Regions from separate parts of the Homo sapiens genome. Here regions 2 and 3 are each linked to region 1. Evidence: promoter capture Hi-C in human tissues and cell types (Jung and others, 2019). All regions are on one chromosome and are shown on one strand. The core of a region is centred on a gene start or on the middle of the fragment in contact, and the rest is flanking DNA. Distances in the headings are between cores, read along the strand shown. Region 1 holds the start of PCK1 (phosphoenolpyruvate carboxykinase 1). Region 2 overlaps CTCFL (CCCTC-binding factor like). Region 3 overlaps ZBP1 (Z-DNA binding protein 1).

Region 1 (2,903 bases), core at 332-2,831:
AGACACAACACGATCTTATGTATGGATGACAGCACCACTAATAACAAATGCCAGTGACCTAAACGGGGAATAACTTCAAATGAAACAAAAAGCACCTCATATCATATTTATCCTGAAAGACACAACTGGCTGAATAAAATCTGAATACAGGAAACATAGCAATGGGTTGATAATTTTGGTGGAACTTGATGATGTGTGACCCACGCCCAACACAGTGTGACCCAAGCCCCCAGGAGGGTTCTCTAAGTGAGTTTGGTCGGAGGCTGCCATTCACAGTGACTTGTATTTGCCACAGCAGCTCTTTCTAAGCCCAGTCCTGGGATTATCTCAGGGATCATCCCACACCCCAGCGGGGAGATGGGCCAAGTCCCCACCTGACCTCATCTTAGGTAGAGAGGCTTCCATGGAAGTGTGGGCTGGCTGTGGGGGGTTGAGACCTAGCCCCGTTCTTTTGACATTTCACCCTGTGTTCTCCAAACTCCAGCAAGCAGCTTCCATAGCTCATTAAATTTGACTGAAGGTCTGATGGCTTGCAAAGCAAATTCTTTACAACTGTTATAAAGGTTTCATTGCTTAAGCATATAATCTAGCAAAACTGCCAAGCCCCCTCCACTCCCTAAACTCTAAGACTTGCCAGGGAAGAGAACAGTGGCCAGTGGACTGCAGGAGTAACTGCACTCAGCCCAGAACTCCCTGGAGGACACAGGGAAGGTTCTGGAAAGGTGGCGGTACCTCACAGGGAGAGACGTGGTGCTCCAGGGCCCAACTTGCTCATGTTCAGATCCTCACTCTGCAACCCACCAGCCGGCTGTGAGTGGCTACACAATCTCTGCCTCAGTTTCCCTATCTGTACATGGGTTGTTCATAGCCTCCACCTCAGAGGGTAGTAATGATGCCAAGCTCTTAGAACAGTGCTCAGCATGTGTGCATCCTGTGCCTACTCTATGCCAAGCACTACAGAGAGAAAAATGAACAAAATAGGGAGAAATCCCTGCCCTCATGGAGTTTACATCGGGGCAGGGGGCGGGGGCGGCACAGAGCAGACAATCAATACAGTGATTAGCCCCCAGTTAGGTTAGGCATTTCCAATCTTTGCCAATAAGCCACATATTTGCCCAAGTTAGGGTGCATCCTTCCCATGAACTTTGACTGTGACCTTTGACTATGGGGTGACATCTTATAGCTGTGGTGTTTTGCCAACCAGCAGCTCTTGGTACACAAAATGTGCTGCTAGCAGGTGCCCCGGCCAACCTTGTCCTTGACCCACCTGCCTGTTAAGAAAAGGGTGTTGTGTTTTGCAACAGCAGTAAAATGGGTCAAGGTTTAGTCAGTTGGAAGTTGTGTCAAAACTCACTATGGTTGGTTGAGGGCTCGAAGTCTCCCAGCATTCATTAACAACTATCTGTTCAATGATTATCTCCCTGGGGCGTGTTGCAGTGAGTTGGCCCAAAGCATAACTGACCCTGGCCGTGATCCAGAGACCTGCCCCCTGACGTCAGTGGCGAGCCTCCCTGGGTGCAGCTGAGGGGCAGGGCTATTCTTTTCCACAGTATTTAAAGCTGGGAGGTTCTGCCACCAAGCACGGCCTTCCCACTGGGAACACAAACTTGCTGGCGGGAAGAGCCCGGAAAGAAACCTGTGGATCTCCCTTCGAGATCATCCAAAGAGAAGAAAGGTAAGTAGAGCTTTGCATTTACATTTTGAAAAATTACAAAGATGAACTCATTTTTTTCCTGAGAGCAATAACTATTTGGCAATGCACAGCCCTGGCAAAAGGCCGTCGAATGTGTTTGAAGGTGTCTGTTGTTGTTTTTGTTCAGGACGCTTGCGTTTTCTATTTCAGGTGACCTCACATTCGTGCCCCTTAGCAGCACTCTGCAGAAATGCCTCCTCAGCTGCAAAACGGCCTGAACCTCTCGGCCAAAGTTGTCCAGGGAAGCCTGGACAGCCTACCCCAGGCAGTGAGGGAGTTTCTCGAGAATAACGCTGAGCTGTGTCAGCCTGATCACATCCACATCTGTGACGGCTCTGAGGAGGAGAATGGGCGGCTTCTGGGCCAGATGGAGGAAGAGGGCATCCTCAGGCGGCTGAAGAAGTATGACAACTGGTAAGCTCGGCCCCCGCTGCCTGTCCCAGCACCCTGCAGGCAGGGCTCCCCTGCGTCTCCTGGGAGTTGGTGGAGAAAGGTGAATGAAGGCCTTCGGGTAGTTTCAGACTCTTGAGAAGATGAATGCAATGGTCAGAACCATACAGACTTGAATTTTGTGACATTAGTGGGCCAGCCCAAGCTTTAAATGAGGTGTGTGCACAAAAGCTCTGCCAACTAGATTCCTGATTAAAAAAAAGGCAGCCCCTCTCCTACAGACCAGGTCCTAGTGGAGTAAATGTCCACCTGGCCATGTCTTAGATGGTCTGTGTGTTCACACTGATGGACTGTTGTTAGCGTGCTCAGCACTCTGCTAGGCATGGAAAGCCACGGTACTGAAGGAGATGGTTCGCTGCCCGTGGTGCTTGGCTGAAAGGAAGCCTGTGATTTTTGCAGCTGGTTGGCTCTCACTGACCCCAGGGATGTGGCCAGGATCGAAAGCAAGACGGTTATCGTCACCCAAGAGCAAAGAGACACAGTGCCCATCCCCAAAACAGGCCTCAGCCAGCTCGGTCGCTGGATGTCAGAGGAGGATTTTGAGAAAGCGTTCAATGCCAGGTTCCCAGGGTGCATGAAAGGTGAGCGGAACATTGATTTGATTGGGTAAAACAGCAGAGAGCCTTTTCTTATTTACATCTATCCTAATGGTAATTCAAACAATAATGGAAGCTCCCACCACCTCAGATGTCTTTCAGTTCCATACATGAAGTTGGCAATGTATTGAAAATGCACATCCCTCTTCTGCTTTTACAGACTG
Region 2 (2,710 bases), core at 136-2,635, 54 kb before region 1:
TTGCAAATTATGCGAAACATCCCGCCTGATTCCCATTTTGACTTTCCCACTGTGCTTAACAGGACTGTCTGCGTTTATGATGGAAGAAGGAAGAATTTACACATAATGGGGGTGATGGAACAGGTTGTTTAAACTTCTTCCATTTTATGCTTAGACACTGGGGTTGGCAAACGACAACCAGTGGGTCAAATCTGGCTGCCAACTGTTTGTGAAAGCAAGTTTTACTGGAACACAGCCATGTCTATTCATTTACACACTGCATCCACAGCTGCTTCCATGACACAAGGGCAGACTCAAGAAGTCGTGGCAGAAACTGATTTGCGTTGCCCTGGTGATTAATGACGCTACGCTTACTGGCCACCTGTATGTCTTCTTTGGAGAAAGGTCTATTTAGATACTTTAACTGTTTTGTTTTGTTTTTTTCCTGAGACAGTCTCGCTCTGTTGCCCAGGCTGGACTGTAGTGGCACAGTCTCAGCTCACTGCAACCTCCACCTCCTGGGTTCAAGCAATTCTCCTGCCTCAGCCTCCTGAGCAGCTAGGATTACAGGCATGTGCCACCATGCCCAGCTAATTTTTGTATTTGTAGTAGAGATGGGGTTTCATCATTTTGGCCAGGCTGGTCTTGAACTGCTGACCTTGTGATCCACCTGCCTCTGCCTCCCAAAGTGCTGGGATTACAGGTGTGAACCACCGCGCCTGGCCTAGATACTTTACCTGTTTTTCATTGGGTATCTGTCTATTTACTGAGTTATAAGAGTTCTTTTTATATTTTAGACACAAGTCCAAATATGCTTTCTTGAATCGGAATTTCAAAAATTTTATGTTCTGAGGGACTGCATGAGGCAGACTTGTTCTTTTCTCTACATTTTTATTTCTTGCACCAAAGAGCAGTTTTTTTCTCTTTAGAATTCTACTCGTTAATTTTAACTCTTCACAATTTTTGCATGAGCAATGGTGTTTTGGGAGCACTGCCACAGCTTTTATTTGAAATTTTAAACTAATAGGGTTGACATTCCAGAACTATCCCACTGTGCTACTCAGAAAAACACAACTACACTACTGTTTTAAGAAGAAATATTTTTAAAAAAATAGTCAACTTCAGGAAATTCAACTTTTATAAAACTTTTATAAAGTTAGGCTGAAGCCTACATGGTCCAAGGATCTAGCTAGCCATGTGCAGTGGTTTTTAAATGTCCTGAAATTCTTTGATGCTGTTCCTTTCAAAAGAAACTTCATTCCCCACTCGAGTGTGGGTGGGACTTCATGGTTCATTTCTTGTGACTAGAATGTGCCACTTTTTTTTTTTTTTTGAGACAGAGTCTTGCTCTGTCGCCCAGGCTGGAGGCCAGTGGCACAATCTCAGCTCACTGCAACCTCTGTCTCCTGGGTTCAAGTGATCCTCCCGTCCCAACCACCCAAGTAGCTGGGATTACAAGCGTGCACTACCACGCCTAGCTATTTTCTTTTTTTTTTTTTAAAGTAGAGACAGGGTTTCACCATGTTGGCCAGGCTGGTCTTGAGCTCCTGGCCTCAAGTTATCCACCTGCCTTGGCCTCCCGAAGTACTGGGATTACAGGTGTGAGCCCCCACAGCTGGCTGTTGTGCCGCTTTTAGGACTAGACTGCAAAAGGCACCATGGCTTCCTACTTGCACTCTCTCACTTGCTCTGAGTCAGGAGGACACTCAAGCAGCCCTGCAGAGAGGTCCCTGTAGCAAGGAACTGAGGCCGGTGCCAGCAGTTGTGTGGCGGAGCTGTCCTGGAAGTGGATCCTCTGGCCCCAGTCCAGCCTTCGGATGATGCAGCCCTGGCGGACATCCTGACTGCAGCCTCAGGAGTGGCCCTGAGCCAGGACCACCCAGTTCAGCCACTTCCGAGTTCCCAACCCAGAGAATCTGTCAGGTGATAAATGTTTGTGGTTTTAAGCCACTCCATTTTGAGGTAATCTGTCATACAGAAATAGATAACTAATACAACACCTAAAAGAATAAAACCATAAATGTATTGCTTAGTCCAGTACCAACAGCACTATTCTTTTTTTTTTAATTAAAAAAGTTATTTTAGAGACAGGGTCTCACTCTGTCTTTGAGGCCAGAGTGCAGTGGTGCGATCGTGACTCACTGTAGCCTCCAACTCCTGGGCTCAAGTGGTCCTCCTGTCTCAGCCTCCTGAGCAGCTAGGCCTACAGGGGTGCACCACCACAACCAGCTAATTTTTTTGGAGGGATGGGGGTCTCCCTGTGTTGCCCAGGCTGATCTCAAACTCCTGGCCTCAAGTAATCCTCCCACCTTGGCCTCTCAAGTAGCTGGGATTATAGACACCAATAACATTATTCTAGGGACATCTGAAAAAATGTGTGAAAACTGCATTCTCTCTGTCAAGTAGCCTAAATCTAGTTCACTGTTTGAAAATATTACACTAAAAGGTGGGGTTCTTTGGGGAGTCTGATAACTCCCTATTGTAAGATTTTGTGTGTTGGATTGTCCTTTTTTTTTTTTTTAGGGGATGAGGAGACCACACTTTCATAGGATTCTTCAAGAATTTTGTGATTTTAAAAAACTAATAACCACTTTCCTAAGGCATGACAGATGCTCCTGAAGTCCTGGCAGGTTTCTATAATCGGGTTTAAACTCTCCTGGTGTGACACTGTCCTCCTGAGATAGAGGGATCTTTCCATGGGGGATTTACTGTGACTTAAGTAAGCTTACCC
Region 3 (2,853 bases), core at 224-2,723, 53 kb after region 1:
AGGGCAGAATCCCCCCACTCCCCATCCCTACCCTTTGCCCCCACCCAGAGGATCCGGTGGCTCCCCACCGAGGTCCCCTCCCTGGGCTCTCTTGGGTGACTTACCGTCCTCCCTGGAGACTGTCTGTCTTGTAATGATGTTCCCGTGTCCAATCTGGATGGCTTCGGAGTTTGCAATGGAAATCCAGCTGTTGGGTCCATTCTGGCAGATCATGTTGATTGGATTGTGCTGGTAAATAATTGAGGCTGACTTTGCTCTTCTTCCAGAATCTTCTGCAAAATAATATTCAACTGTATCCCTTTGCCACTGTCTATGGGTCAGGGGTTCCCAATACCAGTCGGCAGCACCAAATTCTCCTGGGGAGCTTGTTAAAATACCCTGGGCGTTCCGAGTCAGTAGGGCCAAGTGGGAGGCCAGAGCTGGGTGTTTAACAGACACCACAGGTACCTCAGAGGGAGCCTCACTTGAAAATAGCCACTGTGAGTCACCCTACCTGTGTCTTTTGCTGCCTCCATGGCTGGGCCGCCATGATTGCTGGCTGGGAGGACCGCAGGGGCCCCACACTGCTCTCCCTAGGGGGCAGCCACAGCCCGGACCCCCGAGCACCTGCACCATTGCCCTTTTCCCTTGAGTAATGGCCGAGAAACAGCAGCCCATTGGGCCAGATCGGTCGTGTTTGGCTCCCATGACATTTTCAATATTTGAATTTGTCACTAGTGTTTAAAATCTGGTGGCTGTCACGCGTTATTCCTTCCTCACAGCAGCCCTAGGATGCTGAGACCCCCTCGGGCACCCGTCATGAGTAGCAGAGTCAGCCCTGCAGAGGTTGAGGCAGGCACCTGCCCAGACTGTGCGGGGCCCATCACCACCCTCCAGGGTCTCAGCTCCTGTGCCTTTGTGGGCCCTTCCCCCATACACAAATATTTAAATTACATTGTATAGCAAGGATAACCCAGGCTGGATTTTTAAATTTTATTTTATTTTATTTTTTGGGGGACAGAGTTTTGCTTTTGTTGCCCAGGCTGGAGTGCAATGGCGCGATCTCAGCTCAGTGCAACCTCTGCCTCCTAGGTTCAAGCTATTCTCTTACCTCAGCCTCCCGAGTAGCTGGGATTACAGGCGCCCACCACCACACCTGGCTAATTTTTGTATTTTTAGTAGAGACGGGGTTTCGCCATGTTGGCCAGACTGGTCACTCCTGACCTCAGGTGATCTGCCCGCCTCAGCCTCCCAAAGTGCTAGGATTACAGGCGTGAGCAACCGTGCCTGGCCCATTTTTAGATATTCATTATTATTGTAGTATTCATTTCCTCTGATTTTAAATGAAATTAAAATTAAAACATTTTCAAGGACCCCTGAGAATGCCATGCACCTATTGGATCTTGGCCCTGTGTGTGTTAGGTCTCACGGGGAAGCTGACCCTGCGCTGACCCTGGGGCTCCAGCCGGTAGGGGTCCAAGACTAGTCTTGCCTTCTCTTCTGCCAACTTTTAAACCCCAACTTGAGCAAAGTGCTCAAAGAAAACCATTCCCAAACTCAGACTGATCCCTGCACCCCAGAGCTGAGAACATTGGGAATGGGCCACCTCCGTCCCATTCACTGGCCTTCTGCAACTGCAGACCTTGGGCCACGCCTCCAAAAAGCTGTCCCTGGTTAATCTTGCCAGCACACCCCTTCCTCCTGGAAGCCCTTGCAGTGAATTGTCGGTAGGACCTCCAGAAGCTTCTAGCAGTTTCCGGTGAGCTGCTCAGCAGAGCACCCAGCAAAGACCAAGCACTAGTGTCATGGTTTCCCTCTGCAGCCCAGACACAGGCAGCCGGGGGCCTACCTGGGCGGTAAATCGTCCATGCTTTGGACTGCTCATCCATGTCCAGAAGGTGCCTGCTCTTCATCCTGTACAAGTCTCGGTTCACATCTTTTGCTGTCCTCATTCCCAGTGCTTGGGCGATGACCAGGGCCCTCTGGGGACCATTGTCTTTGAGAAACCTGTAGATGTCTTCCTCTGGGAGGCAGGATGGCCAGGTGGTTAGGGAGTAGTCCTAGGGTTTGCATCTGCCCCACCGCTTCCTAGCTGTGTGGCCCTGGACCCAGCCCCTCAAGGCCTGGTTTCCTCATCTGTAAAATGGGTGTCATGATAACGGGGTCATCATGACGCACCGCAGAGGTGCCCTGAGGGTGGGGGATGTGCACAGAGTGCTCTGCGCTGGGCCTGGCATGTGGCGGGTGCATGGTGAGGGTCAGCTATTGTCTGACTGGAGAAATCACTGCTCAGCCATTCAGATTCTCCCACTGTGAGGGCTGGGTCTTGGCTCTGAACACTGTATGGGAGCTGCCTGGTGGGTGGGACAGGGCCCCTGAACACTGGTGAGATCTTGTACCCTCAAGGAGGGCCTGGGGTTCCTGGGGAGTGGGATCCTGTGTCCCGGGAACTGAAGGGACATGCAAAAACTTACCCCGTTGTTGGCTGAACTGAGGGCCAGGGGTCTCTGGAATTGTAGCTGCATGTTGCTGGGGCCTCTCGGCTGCAGAAAGAAAGATGGGTCAGAGGGGTGGGGGACAGAAGACAGCACCAGGCCTCCACCCCACAAAGGTGGGCAGCTCCCTAGGGGTAAGTGGCAATGCCGGTAGTTGCAAACTCAGACTCCAGAGTTCAACACACTTGACTTCAAATCCTGCCTGCGCCCTGGCAGCTGCGGCTTCCTGCCGATTAACTTCTCCGGGGCTCAGCCTCCTTTGCCTCCTGGGGTTGTGTGAGGGCTGGGTGAACCCCAAAACAGTGCCTGGCTAATCTTAAGTGCATGATAAATGGCAGCTCCTTCTGGCTGTGGGCTGTAAAGCTAGAAAAGGGGGGCT

Evidence for each region. The method cuts DNA at HindIII sites, captures the fragments that hold promoters and counts their contacts. A contact is called where the count stands out against the background at its distance.
Region 2: a fragment that was not itself captured here is called in contact with the fragment with the promoter of PCK1 in region 1 in 4 of the 25 tissues and cell types used here (aorta, mesendoderm cells, neural progenitor cells and 1 more).
Region 3: a fragment that was not itself captured here is called in contact with the fragment with the promoter of PCK1 in region 1 in 1 of the 25 tissues and cell types used here (psoas muscle).

What each region holds. Positions count from the first base shown.
Region 1 is chr20:57,559,529-57,562,431 of GRCh38, forward strand. It overlaps PCK1 (phosphoenolpyruvate carboxykinase 1), which reads left to right and starts at 1,582. Exons shown (of 10, transcript NM_002591.4): 1 at 1,582-1,675; 2 at 1,844-2,107; 3 at 2,543-2,724. The coding sequence starts at 1,884. The HindIII fragment of the contact is 15,943 bases long and covers 1-2,903 here.
Region 2 is chr20:57,505,898-57,508,607 of GRCh38, forward strand. CTCFL (CCCTC-binding factor like) reads right to left here. Exons shown (of 11, transcript NM_001386993.1): 9 at 2,709-2,710. Among named protein-coding and RNA genes, the nearest start is that of CTCFL, 18 kb to the right of the region's middle. The HindIII fragment of the contact is 6,086 bases long and covers 1-2,710 here.
Region 3 is chr20:57,613,059-57,615,911 of GRCh38, forward strand. ZBP1 (Z-DNA binding protein 1) reads right to left here. Exons shown (of 8, transcript NM_030776.3): 3 at 2,454-2,522; 4 at 1,829-2,002; 5 at 105-272. Among named protein-coding and RNA genes, the nearest start is that of ZBP1, 5.9 kb to the right of the region's middle. The HindIII fragment of the contact is 3,943 bases long and covers 1-2,853 here.